Regions from separate parts of the Homo sapiens genome. Here regions 2 and 3 are each linked to region 1. Evidence: promoter capture Hi-C in 16 types of primary human blood cells and fetal thymus (Javierre and others, 2016). All regions are on one chromosome and are shown on one strand. The core of a region is centred on a gene start or on the middle of the fragment in contact, and the rest is flanking DNA. Distances in the headings are between cores, read along the strand shown.

Region 1 (4,714 bases), core at 1,203-3,702:
GGCAGCATATGTACATATTTCTATATAGGTATACACATGCAGTGCTAACATTAGTCTTTTAAAAAGGGAGAAATACACATTTATATATTTATATATAATATATATAGAGAGAGTAAATTACTGAAAGTGATGCCTCTAGGTAGTGGGGTATGAAGAGTCTAAGAGGAAGGCCAGGCACAGTGGCTCGCGTCTGTAATTCCAACACTTTGGGAGGCTGAGGCGGGTGGATCGCTTGACGTCAGGAGTTTGAGACCAGCCTGGCCAACATGTTGAAACCCCGTCTCTACCAAAAAATACAAGTTAGCTGGGCGTGGTGGTGCACACCTGTAATCTCAGCTACTTGGGAGGCTGAGGTAGGAGAATCACTTGAACCCGGGAGGCAGAGGTTGCAGTGAGCCAAGATTGCACCACTGCACTCCAGCCAGGGTGACACAGAGAGACCCTGTCCAAAAAAAAAAAGAGTCTAAGAGAAAAAGAAGGTAGATAAATAAACCAAATGATCAAATCTAACTTCAGCAAAACTGCAACGAACTGACATCAGGCACTCTGGAAGGGCCACACTGACAGAGACACAACGTTGCCTCTCACATATTCCTGGTAAAAACATTTAAGCTGAAGCTAATCATGAGGCGAAAATCAGACAAATCCAAATTGAGCGATATTCTGCAAAACACTGGGCTGGATTCTTTAAAAATGTCATTTGGCCTACAGAGGACAGCCAAATAAAAATGAAAATATCATTGTCATGAAAGACACAAAAGGCAGGGACACCATATTAAAAGAGACCAAAGAGATATGACAACAGAATACAATTGGTGATTCTTGATTGGATAGAAAAAATATAAACAACTATAACACATGTTATTGGGATAAATGGAAAAACTGAAATATGGACTGTGTATCAGAGTATTGTATCATTGTTAAATTTTCTAAATGTGTTATTTGTACTGTGATGATGTAGGAGAATGTCCTTGTTCTTGGCAGATAACTGCTGAAAGAAGTGGTGAATTATTAGTAGTCTACAACTAACTCTTGAAAGGTCCAGTGAAAATAAATACATAAATGGGAGAGAGAAAACACCAGAGCGAAAGCGAGCACACAAAAATAAGGCAAAATGGTGCAGCTAAGTGAAGGACGGGTTTATAAATATTCAATGTACTGCTCTTGCAACTTTCCTGTACATCTGAAAATTTTCAAAACAAACAGATGGGAAGAAAAAAATGAATATAGTACAAAATATGTGCAGTATCATAGTCTGCACTGTAAGTAAAAGTGTAAAGTCTTTTGTAGACCTTGGATTCTAACTACAGCTTTGTAGTGCATTAATGAAAAAGGTAAACATTAAACAATATCCAACAAAATAAAATAAAAATAAAAATGCCTTGTAAAGGGTGAATGAGATTAATTATTTTAAATGTTATGCAATGTACACCATTGACAATTAGGATACAATGCAAATTTAACATTATAACTACTCCTAACATAATATTTTCACAGCAAAGGTCTGAATTTTTACTGCACCTCTGGTTCACAACCATAAACAATTATATCTGTACAGTAATAATAATTTTAAAAACATCATTCTAGCTGGTTGCACTTGGATTGTCAATAATCCACAAATCCCACTAAAGAAAATTTTTTACCCGTTACATTTTCTAGAATGACTACCTCATTTCCCAACTTTGAAGTAACAGCTTTTAACTAAAAGGTTGCTTCAAAACTACTATTAAAAAGTGGTTCCTATAAAACACTACTGCTTGACCCAAAAAATAAAATAAAGCACACAGCCCAGCTTTCCTCTCAATTGGTCACTAAACCAGTATCATGAAAAGGCAGGGAGCCACGCTGTAAGCGCTCCCCCGTTTTCTGCCGAATGTTCAGGAAAAGAGTGTCAGGTTCAAGCCAGCATTTAAAATAAAATAAAATGAATCACAGTCAACTCCCTAAACTCCAATGTAAGAACCACGCACCTGCACCAAAATATGCCTGAGCGGGAACTCGAGTCGGCTCTCCGAGACCCCAAAGTTCCCAACCTAGCCCCAACCCCTCAAGCTTCCCCCAGGGGCACCGGCTTCTCACAGCCGAGGGGGATTCGGGGCCCACATGCGGAGCCTCCCGGGCCTGTCGAGCCACGGCAGAAGGCGACGACGCCCGGCCCCACAGGCCCCTCAAGCTCCTCAAGCTCCCCCAGTCCCTCCCTCCCCCGCCACTCGCTCTCCAGTCCCTGCCCCTTTCCCCGGCCCCACTCACTCTTCATCTTGGATGCGGAAGCCGGTGACAACCCCTTGCCGACACTGGACGGAAAAGAAAGAAGCAGGAAGGTTGTCCCCCTGCTTTCCACTTCCCTGAGGCGGGGTCCCGCACTAGGATCTCCGTGGTGGTCCCTCGAAGGAGAGCGTTAGAGATCCCGCCGCCATGTTGTGTCCCTGTCACCCTAGCAACCGTCAGGCCCTGAACGCCATGAGCTGTCGCCTGCGCATGCGCAAGATGCCCCGCCCATGTACGCGTGCGCAGTGCAGCCCGTCCCCTCAGCCCGGTTGCTAAGCAGCCTTTCCTCCGCTTCCATGTAAATACTGTGCAAATCCCCGCCTTTGACACAGGCGACCTTCGCTCGGCTCGCTCTCCCTGCTGGCCTGGGAACTTAGCGATTTGGAACCCACTACGTGGACGATAGCCTTGAGCTTTAATTGGGCTTGGGAGCTTCTACAGGAATTTTTTTTTTTTTTTGAGACAGAGTGTCGCTCTGTTACCCAGGTTGGGGTGCAATGGCGTGATCTCGGCTCACTGCAACCTCCGCCTCCCGGCTTCAAGCGATTCTCCTGCCTCAGCCTCCCAAGTAGCTGGGATTACAGGCACCCACCACTACACCCGGCTAATGTTTTTGTATTTTTAGTAGAGACGGGGTTTCACCATGTTAGGCTGGTCTCGAACTCCTGACCTCAGGTGATCCGCCTGCCTCGGCCTCCCGAAGTGCTGGGATTACAGGCGTGAGCCACCACGCCCGGCCCAGTTTTTCTTTTTAATTCAACAAGCATTTGTTTTTGCCCCAGGAACTGTCGCAGGTATTGGGGATTAAAGGACAGTGTAGACGAGGTGACTGAGTTCTTGAAACTAACATTCTAGTGTAAAGATGAATGAATGTACACCGGAATGAACTATGTGCAGACACGGTGCCTAAGCAACACAGTGGCCTAGTTCTCTGGACCCTGACAAAACAATAAAATAACAAGCATACTATGTATGGGTATAGTATTTTATGAAGCTCATTAGATTAGCCTCATAATTATTCCATGAGATCAAAACCCTGTTTTTTCCTCCATTTTTTTTCTTTTACTAAAATACATCGTTTATTTTTAAAACAGATAAGTAGCCTTGCCAAAACGAAGCCTCAGAAAATTGGTTTAAGACTGAATTGGCCAGGTGTGGTGGCTCACACCTGTAATCCCAGCACTTTGGAAGGCCGAGGCAAGAGGATCGCTTGAGGCCAGAAATTCAAGACCAGCCTGGGCAACATAGAGAAACCCCACTTCCCTCTTAAAAAAAAAAAAAAAAAAACTCCGGGCGTGGTGGCTCACGCCTGTAATCCCAGCACTTTGGGAGGCCAAGGCGGGCAGATCACGAGGTCAGGAAATCGAGACCATCCTGGCTAACACGGTGAAACCCCATCTCTACTAAAAATACAAAAAAAATTAGCCGGGCGTAGTGGCGGGCGCTATAGTTCCAGCTACTCCGGGGGCTGAGGCAGGAGAATGGCGTGAACCCTGGAGGCGGAGCTTGCAGTGAGCCGAGATTGCACCACCTGCACTGCAGCCTGGGCGACAGAGCAAGAGACTCAAAAAAAAAAAAAAAAAAAAAAAAAAGCCGGGCACGGTGGCACATGCCTGTAAACCCAGCTATTCAGGAGAATAAGGCGGAGGTATCTTGAGACCAGGAGTTCTAGGCTCAGTGAGCTATGATAGCACCACTGCACTCTAGCCTGGGTGACAAAGCAAGACCTTGTCTCGAAAGAAAGAGAAAGCGGCCGGTCGCGGTGGCTCACACCTGCAATCCCAGCACGTTGGGCGGCCGAGGCAGGCAGATCACTTGAGTCCAGGAGTTCGAGACCAGCCTGGCCAACATGGGGGAAACCCCGTCTCTACTAAAAAAATACAAAACGGCTGGGCACAGTGGCTGATGCCTGTAATCCCAGCACTTTGGGAGGCCAAGGCGGGTGGATCCCCAGGTCAGGAGTTCAAGACTAGCCTGGCCAAGATGGTGAAACCCCATCTCTACTGAAAATAGAAAAATGAGCCGGGTGTGGTGGCAGGCACCTGTAATCCCAGCTACTCGGGAGGCTGAGGCAGAGAATTGCTTGAACCCGGGAGGCGGAGGTTGCAGTGAGCCGAGATTGCGCCACTGCACTCCAGCCTGGGCGACAGAGTGAGACTCCGTCTAAAAAAGCAAATACATAAATAAAATACAAAACAAGCCAGGCGTGGTGGCTCACACCTATAATCCCAGCACTTTGGGAGGCCGAGGAGGATGGACCAACTGAGGTCAGGAATTCGAGACCAGCTGGCCAACCAACATGGTGAAACCCTGTCACTACTAAAAATACAAAAATTAGCCAGGTGTGGTGATGCGCTCCTGTAATCCCAGCTACTCAGGAGGCTGAGGCGGGAGAATCACTTGAACCCAGGAGGTGGAGGCTACAGTGAGTCGAGATCCTGCCACT
Region 2 (4,224 bases), core at 495-2,994, 310 kb before region 1:
TGTTGTTTACAAACTCCAGACATCCCAGGGGAAAGTTAGGGAGGCTTTTTGTGCCCTGACCTTTTTTTCCAACTAGTTACTTGGCATTTGTAGCTTGGTCTCAGTAGTTTCTTCGAACTCCTGTCCATGAGCATCTTTGGGAATCTCAATTCCTGCTTCTCCCTCTCCTCCCCACCCCCCACTTTTTATTAGGGGAATTTTAAAACATACACAAAAGTTGAGGGAATCAAGAGCCCCCCACCACACAGCTTTATCAATATGTGGACAATGTTATTTATATTTTCTTTCCTACCTCTCCACCCCCACCAGATTATCTTGAAGCAAATCTCAGATATAATATACTCTTAGTATATTTTTAGAACAAAAGGAAATCTCAAAAGACCATTTAGTCCCCAGTGTCACTTCTGAACAGAACCAGTGGCTTCATAAAAAAAGATGGCACAACTTCTGCTATTGCAGACTCTTCCAGAATTTAGTGATAAGACATTAACCGTTTTCTTAACTTTGAATATAAACTCAGATCTTTAAGGATTTTTTTTGAGGTAGTTAATTGCCTATGGCTAAAATCGTGGTGATGTTTCACCTAATGCTGGGCACTGTCCAGCTAATCAGAACCAAGCTATGGATATTGGCTTCTGCCCTTCAAGGAGTCTACGTACAATCCTTAGCATCATTCTCATCATGTTACTCCTGTTTTTAACCAGCCGTGTTTCTATTTGCATTGTTCTCTTGCTTATCTCCAAATTTAACAAACTAAAGCCAGCAGTCTCCTTTTTCCCTAGAGCCCATCCCCTCACTCTCGTTTAGCTGTTCTGCCCTCTCTTCTGGGTCTTCTTTCAGCACCTAAACGGGACCCCATGTCCCCTGCAATCTTCATAAGGAAGCTCCCTTCTCAGGCACTCATCCAGCCTCCTCCAGCACTGCTCTGTGTGATCGCCCATAGCCCCACCCTGCTGACTAGGGGGCTTCTCTGTCCTTGTCTCACCTCTTAACTGCAAGACTTGATGGAGGCTCCCTCCTGCGTGATGCTCTGGACTCTTCAGAACACCGTGCCTCCTGGTTCTCCTCCCACCTCAGTGGCTGGTCTCCTTTCTCGGTTCCTCTTTTGCCTTCCCCTTAAACTCCCTCTAAATGTTCTGTTCCCTCTCCACTCCTGTGCACTCTCATTGTGGTCTCATCTAGTCTTGTTGACTTTAAATGCCACCTGCAGGCTGACAGCTCTGTGTTCGTATCTCCAGCTGACCTTTCTCCCTACTCCAGGCTTGTCTGGGCAGCTACTAGCATGGCATCTCCACTTGGCTATCTCGGAGTCGCGTCACACTGAGCACCTCTTGAGCCCTGCCTCCCCAAGTTTGATCTTCCCTCAGTCTTTCACTTCTCATCCTTCAGCTCATTCAGGCCAAAAATCATGGTATTGTCCTTGATTCCCATTGTGTGTCTCTTGAAAATGAATGCTGAGCTGTTTCACTGGCACCACTCCGTACAAGGTACCATCACCTCTCACTTGGATTATTAATATTCCCTCCTATCTGTTCTCTCTGCCTTTGCCTCCCTAAAATCTGTTTTCAACACAGCAGCCAAAGCAAGTTTTAGATTCTAAGTCAATCCTGACACTCTTTTCGGAGCCCTTGAATGACTTCCTATCTCACTCATCATGAAAGTCAAAGCCCCAGTGGCTTGCTGGGCCCGTGTAATGTGTTGCTTATTATTTCTCTGACTTCAGCTCCTGCTGCTTCTCCCTTCACTGGCTCTGCCCCATCACACTGGAGTCTTGCTGGTCCTCAAACATGCCGGTAGACTCTTGCCCCTGCGCCTTCACATTTGTTGATCTCAACTCAGAATCCTTGATGGCAAATAATCACAACTTACCCCTCTCCTCCTGGTTTCTCGCAATTCTCCCCTTCTCAGCAAGGCCTTTCCTGACGTCATTACTGAAAATGCAGCCTTCCCCATGCTGTGCCCACACTCCCTCTCCTTCTCACTCTTGCTCCGTAGTTCTCTCTCACCACCTGACATTCTGTGTGTTTTGCTTATTCCCTAATCGCGTCTCTCCTCCCATAGAGTGTAAGTCCCTGTGAGCAGGGATTTTTATCTGCTTGTTGTACCTAGAACAGTGCCTGGCACATAACAGGCACTCAGATAGTTAAAATGAGCAAATGGCTTCGTGCACTTTTCAGCTGTTTTTGCATTGCCAAATTTCTCTGTTGTCATTAATGTTCTTGTATTGGTTTGATGAGTTAAATATAAGTAGGCTTTCTGGTTACTTGTGGCCAGGGTAAGTGGATGTTATCCCTTAAATGCCATTTTGGTCATGAGCTTTTCTTTCAGTTCATTTTAATTAAGTAAAAGGTGACACTTAGATTACCATTTTCATATACACTGCTTGCATTCATTTCGGCTTTGGTTGGCTAGGTGGGTGTACATTACGAATTGACTGAGGAAGAGAAATTCTATCGGAATGCTTTAACACGGATGCCTGATGGCCCTGTTGCCCTGGAAGAGTCGTATTCTGCTGTCATGGGCATTGTATCTGAAGTTGAACAGTATGTCAAGGTAAGAAACTCCTAATTTCATTCAAATGTGCATATGGTCTATTCTAGACACTTAAGAGTACAAGATATAAAGAACATGGAGCTAAAAGGTCTTGACTGTATGTATGGTTCACTAGATACTATTTGCTGTTTCAAAGCAGAGAGTAAATGATAGGATACATCTTTTTGAGTTTTAACCATGACGTTCAAGAATCTTTTTTGATATGAAAATTCTGAGAGTCTGAAGTGAGAATTTCTCTAATAGTGGTGAAAGACATGAACCTTCTTAATGGAATGTGAACATAAGAGGTGCCAGTATTCTACAAAATGAAAACTCAAACTATTATTTAACTGTGTTCTTCATTTGCAGGTTTGGCTTCAGTATCAGTGTTTATGGGATATGCAAGCTGAAAACATCTATAACAGACTTGGAGAAGATCTCAACAAATGGCAGGCTCTCCTGGTCCAAATAAGGAAGGCCAGAGGAACCTTTGACAATGCAGAAACCAAGAAAGAGTTTGGACCAGTAGTTATAGATTATGGCAAGGTGAGCCCTGCTGTCTGGTTGAAAGGTGTCACGGGTAGTGTAAAAGCAACATTTCTGTTAGACTGATATTCATTTGAAGGATAAACACGCCAGCAGGAAAGAGCTGATGATGTGTTGTGTGCTATTTCACCCTCAGGTACAATCTAAGGTGAACTTGAAATATGACTCTTGGCATAAGGAGGTTCTTAGCAAATTTGGGCAGATGCTAGGATCAAACATGACGGAATTCCATTCCCAGATCTCAAAGGTGAGGACATAGGATTCTGCCTCTGTAACCGGTCTACTGGTGAACCCCAGCTCTGTGATGAAATACTCCCCTCTCTCTGAACAGTCCCGCCAAGAGTTGGAGCAGCACTCAGTAGACACGGCCAGCACCTCCGATGCAGTGACCTTCATCACCTATGTGCAGTCTTTGAAACGGAAGATCAAGCAGTTTGAGAAGCAAGTTGAGGTGAGCTCTGTGCATATTTAAAAATTTTTGGCTGGGCGTGGTGGCTCACGCCTGTAATCCCAGCACTTTGGGAGGCCGAGGCGGGCGGATCACGAGGTCAGGAGATCGAGACCATCCTGGCTAACACGGTGAAATGCTGTCTCTACTAAAAATACAAAAAATTAGCCGGGTGTGGTGGCGGGTACCTGTGGTCCCAGCTACTCAGGAGGCTGAGGCAGGAGAATGGCATGAACCCGGGAGGCAGAGCTTGCAGTGAGCCGAAATTGTGCCACTGCATTCCAGCCTGGGCAACAGAGTGAGACTCCGTCTCAAAAAAAAAAAAAAAAATTACACTAGATCTCTAGTTTAATTTGGCTTCTATAGTATTTTGCATTCTAAGAGAATGACCTGACTCAACCCTTAAGGCACTCTTTTCTTAGTATGGCCCACAGATCATCTCTGTTACAACAGCCTGATGTGCTTGTTAAAACTTAGTGTAGGCCAGGCACGGTGGCTCATGCCTGTAATCCCAGAACTTTGGGAGGCCAAGGTGGGCAGATCACCTGAAGTCAGGAGTTTGAGACCAGCCTGGCCAACATAGTGAAACCCCATCTCTACAAAAAATATACAAAAAATTACCTGAGTGTGGTGGCATGTGCCTGTAGTCCCAGCTACTCGGGAGGCTGAGGCAGGAGAATCGCTTGAAGCTGGGAGGC
Region 3 (4,199 bases), core at 813-3,312, 470 kb before region 1:
TAACCCTGAGCTTCTAAATAGTATTGCATTTGTAGAACCAAAGACTAGCAGGGGATCAGCAAAGGCTGAGAGCAAGTGGTCTGTATGTCCTCATAATGAAAAGGAGCAGAACAGAACAACAGAGGTAAAGTGATTTTCTTGCTCCTCATTCAGGTAATCATTGGAGATTTGTTCAGCAATAATAGTCAACATAGAAATCTACAGTGTAGGCCAAATAGAGGATTTCTTGTTATCTTCTTTCTTCGTACTGTGGGATAGATAGCCCAGGATTCCTCCAAGTGTGGCAAGTGCACACCACTGCTAACGGCAGTTATTTTAAGTGATTCAGAGTTGAGTATTATTTTACTTTAATAATTATATATTGATGAATGTGAAAATATATAATTAGCACATCAAATCCATGGTTTCTTGGGTTATTATTGCTTAGGACAGGGCTTAGTAAAAAGTGTATCCATTTAAAGCAAAATACCAAGTAAATAAGAGCCTGACTGTACACAGATTTGTGACGATCTTGAAGGTGTTCATGCAGGACTGAAGTACGGGAAACCCCAGGGTGGGCGACTCTGGGTTCCACCTGGGGAATCTGTTCCGAAGACACCTTCCCATCTCTTTCTTGGGTTACAAGCAGTGGAGACACACTTGGGCTTGCATAGATGAAGACAAGTGTTTTTAAGGCACAGTCACAGAGGGACTCCACACAGAGGAGCAGGGTGGAGCGGGACTGTGGAGGCAGAAGGGTCCAGACTCCAGCAGCGTGAGTGACCCCTCTGTGTCCTCATCCACCCCGCCACTCCCAGTCTTTGCGTGTCATGCCCCTTCTTCCCCGCGCTTTACCGTGTAATTTCTCTGCATGCTCTTCTGCATTTACTCAGTAACATAATACAGTTAGCAGTTGTGGGACCTCCAGCAAGTATTGAACTGTTGAGTGGCTGTTCTTCATTTGGAAAATGGGAGTGATAACAGTTTCTCTCTCACAGGACAGTTGTGGATAGTCAGGGAGGTTGCAGTGTGAACACTAGGCACAGCATCTGAAACGTGCTGGAATCAGTCATGTCCACACTGGCAGTGATTAGATCTGCCTGATTCTTCCCATGTTCCGTCTAGTGAGAAGTCGTCAGTAGCTTCAGTTTTCAGGAGGAAAACTTTGACTTGGTCAAAACTTTGTCCTTGATCAAGTTGTTTACTCTCACGCCAAGCCGCCCTGGAGTGTGGTCCAGGAAAAACATGGGCGCCTAGGTCCGCCCCTCGGCCAGCCGTGGCCAGAGGTCACTGGTGCTGCTGTTCACATGGCCGGTGTCAGGGTTTTAATTCGAGGTGGAGCTTCCCAGCCGTTCTGGTAATGAGGAGTCTTGCCTGATATGTCTTGGCCAGCTCTGATTGGTCAAATGTTTGAAGAAGATAGGGTTACCAAAGATTCCTAGACTCTCCAAGTTTGGCAGAAGTTGTTAGAGGATCACACAGTTACCTAAAATGATTGGTTTAATTATATGGTTTGATCATTCTTCAGAAACCACCACCTTGGGTAAACCATTGTTCTTAATTTTCCCTTCATTTTTTGCTCTCATTGTCTGGCCCCAAAGACACACCCCCTTGCGATTTTGTAAAGGATGCATTTCATTGAGAGGACACAGTATGAGGGAGCAGCACATGGACCTAAACTTGACTTCCACCACCCCCAGCCAGATGAATTGCTGAGTCAGTTCACTGTTCCAAAACTGTTTTCTCAAGGCATTATGGTAACAGGCCATGTGAAATTCCCTAACATGACTAGGGGTTTTCACTTCCCAGCTTTATTCAATCCAAGGGTTTTTTTGGCATTTTTTGTTTTTAAGACGGAGTCTCGCTCTGTCACCCAGGCTGGAGTGCAGTGGCGCGATCTCAGCTCACTGCAACCTCTGCCTCCAGGGTTCAAGTGATTCTCCTGCCACAGCCTCCCATGTAGCTGGGATTACAGGCACCCGCCACCTGCCACCACGCTCGGCTAATTTTTGTATTTTTGTAGAGATGGGGTTTCACCGTGTTGGCCAGGCTGGTCTCAAAACTCCTGACCTCAAGTGATCCACCTGCCTCAGCCTCCCAAAGTGCTGGGATTACAAGCGTCAGCCACCACACCCGGCCTGAATCAGTTTTGACATTGTCTCTTCCTCTGGGTGGCAAATGTGATCCATTCAAGACAGATTATATCCCATGTGAAGAGTCACCCTGAGAATTTGAGCAGGGTGTGCTGTGTGGTTACTTGGACTCCAGACCCTTGTCTGCAGAACTGGTGGGACCTTGACTGGGTCCGGTTCTCCTGTCTGCACATGCAGGCCATGGAGGTGCTGAGGTTGCAGCAGTGACGGCAGCACTGAGGGTCAGCTTCAGGGGGACCCTCTTCAAGCCAAACAAAAAGTCTTCTCAAAAAATGGAACTAAAGATGGTCCCTTGATGTGGCGTCTCAGTACGGCTGCTGAGGTATCTCACAAGGCCACCAGCAAGTTAATCTAAGGAGGCATTTTCCTCTTGTGATCAGGCAGCTGTTCCAGCAGAAATGGCTCAAGGAGAAATTCTCCTCCCAGATTCAGTGTCTGGTGGGTGAAACTTCACTGGTGCGTTGCCAGCCCTGGCCTCCAAATCTCTTTAAATTATGAGGTCATAGAATGCATGCTTAAAGCCCCAGGCCTGTCAAGTCGCTTGGGGACATTCATACTGAGGATTTATTAAGATATTAATTTGGTTATCAGGAGTCTGGATGGGGATGAGAGGAGGGGATCTTTATTACATGCTGGGAAAATCAGAAATCAACTCTAATTGACTACCTCTACTCTTTCCTCTCCCAAGATGACTTTGCCAAAAAGCTGTGAGAAAAAGTCCTCAAATCTCAGAGATTGACTTGGTACTTGATTATATCCAGCTCGCTGGTGGGCCTGTGGCCACAGAGCCTCAGAAGAAGGTTAGAAGGTCTGGCCAGACTTTAGCTTTGCTCCACCTACTTGGCAGGGTCAAGCCTACTTGCCAGTGGCTTGGAGAAGTGTTTTGTTTTGTTTTGTTTACTTTTTAGGAGTGTATTCAAAGCACATTCACAGTAAGGAAAAAAAAAATGCAGCCTGTGTCTTCAGGGACTGGGAGTCTCTGATTCCAGCACAGCCGACTGTCCAGCAACCCCAGAATTGGTAGGCTGGACACTGGGCTGCTCCTCATGGCGGTGGGAGCATGGGCTGCTCAGCTGGGGCCATCCAAGGAAGCAAAGATGTGGTGCTGTCCTGTGGCTGGGGGAGCAGGATGAATTGGGATAAGGGAAGCCCAGGGCAGGGTGTTGGCACAGAGCTGGGAGGTGCATTACACCGAGGAACTGACGTGGCCTAAACTCCACAGTGACTTCCACCTGGGATCACAGTTTACAGTCAGCTGAGTGCTCAAGAGAACTCAGTAGAGGGGAATGTTGATGATTCAGGTATTTGGTTGGTGATCATGTTATCAAGTCAGACTTGCAGTTAAGGTAGTGTCCCAGACGTTTGTTCAGAGGGCTCCTTCCCACTTGTCATCTGTAATACTGGCTAATGGGAAACCTGGCCCATGTCAAATTTGTATTAGGAACCATTGATTTCAATTCACGGGCTTTTTCCATTGAGGAATTTAAAGGTCTTAGAAGTAATATTCTTGTTAAGGCATCTGAGGTCTCCCGGGGGACAGACACAGTCTTCATCTTGAGCAGGAACGGTGAGACCACTCTTCTCCCTGTAAGGGACCAGTAGCATGTGTGGGACCACGCCGCCTGCACAGCCGTCCCCTCACGGGGTGCCTCTTGCCCTTGCAGATCACCAGGTGCTCCGAGCTGCCCTGCCTGGGCTCAGGCATCAGCACGGTCCCATCTGAGCGTCGCCTTAACCTCTCTGTAGACCTCTGTCCTTGTCTATCTAATGGGGATGATGGTAGCCCCTCTGTGTGTTCTTACTAGGATTAGTGGGCTGGGAAAAGTTACAGTAATATATTACCAGCATGTAGAAAATACCCAATAATGATGAACTATTAGTATTCCTTAAAAGAATTAAAAGTGAAAATAGTAGGAAACACTAGTAAGATAAAATACAATGGGAAATTAAATTTTTTTAATTACTTAAGGAAATTCCTCAATCCACAAGCAACAATAAATAAGAAACTGAGATTTCCTAGCAGCTGAAAGGTTTTTTTTTTTGCAGTTGAGGCTGTGAAGCTGGGCA

What was found. The method cuts DNA at HindIII sites, captures the fragments that hold promoters and counts their contacts. A CHiCAGO score of 5 or more calls a contact.
Region 2: a fragment that was not itself captured here is called in contact with the fragment with the promoter of MOK in region 1 in 1 of 17 cell types (naive B cells); the score reaches 5.5 in naive B cells.
Region 3: a fragment that was not itself captured here is called in contact with the fragment with the promoter of MOK in region 1 in 1 of 17 cell types (naive B cells); the score reaches 5.9 in naive B cells.

Annotation. Positions count from the first base shown.
Region 1 is chr14:102,302,712-102,307,425 of GRCh38, forward strand. MOK (MOK protein kinase) reads right to left here and starts at 2,453. Exons shown (of 12, transcript NM_014226.3): 1 at 2,251-2,453. The coding sequence starts at 2,257. RefSeq lists enhancers at 2,334-2,856, 2,623-2,672. The HindIII fragment of the contact is 4,511 bases long and covers 2,051-4,714 here.
Region 2 is chr14:101,991,772-101,995,995 of GRCh38, forward strand. It overlaps DYNC1H1 (dynein cytoplasmic 1 heavy chain 1), which reads left to right. Exons shown (of 78, transcript NM_001376.5): 12 at 2,413-2,553; 13 at 2,902-3,078; 14 at 3,215-3,325; 15 at 3,410-3,529. Among named protein-coding and RNA genes, the nearest start is that of DYNC1H1, 29 kb to the left of the region's middle. RefSeq lists an enhancer at 1,213-1,352. The HindIII fragment of the contact is 8,132 bases long and covers 1-4,224 here.
Region 3 is chr14:101,831,991-101,836,189 of GRCh38, forward strand. All of the region lies in intron 3 of PPP2R5C (protein phosphatase 2 regulatory subunit B'gamma), which reads left to right. Among named protein-coding and RNA genes, the nearest start is that of PPP2R5C, 72 kb to the left of the region's middle. RefSeq lists an enhancer at 725-1,225. The HindIII fragment of the contact is 5,116 bases long and covers 1-4,199 here.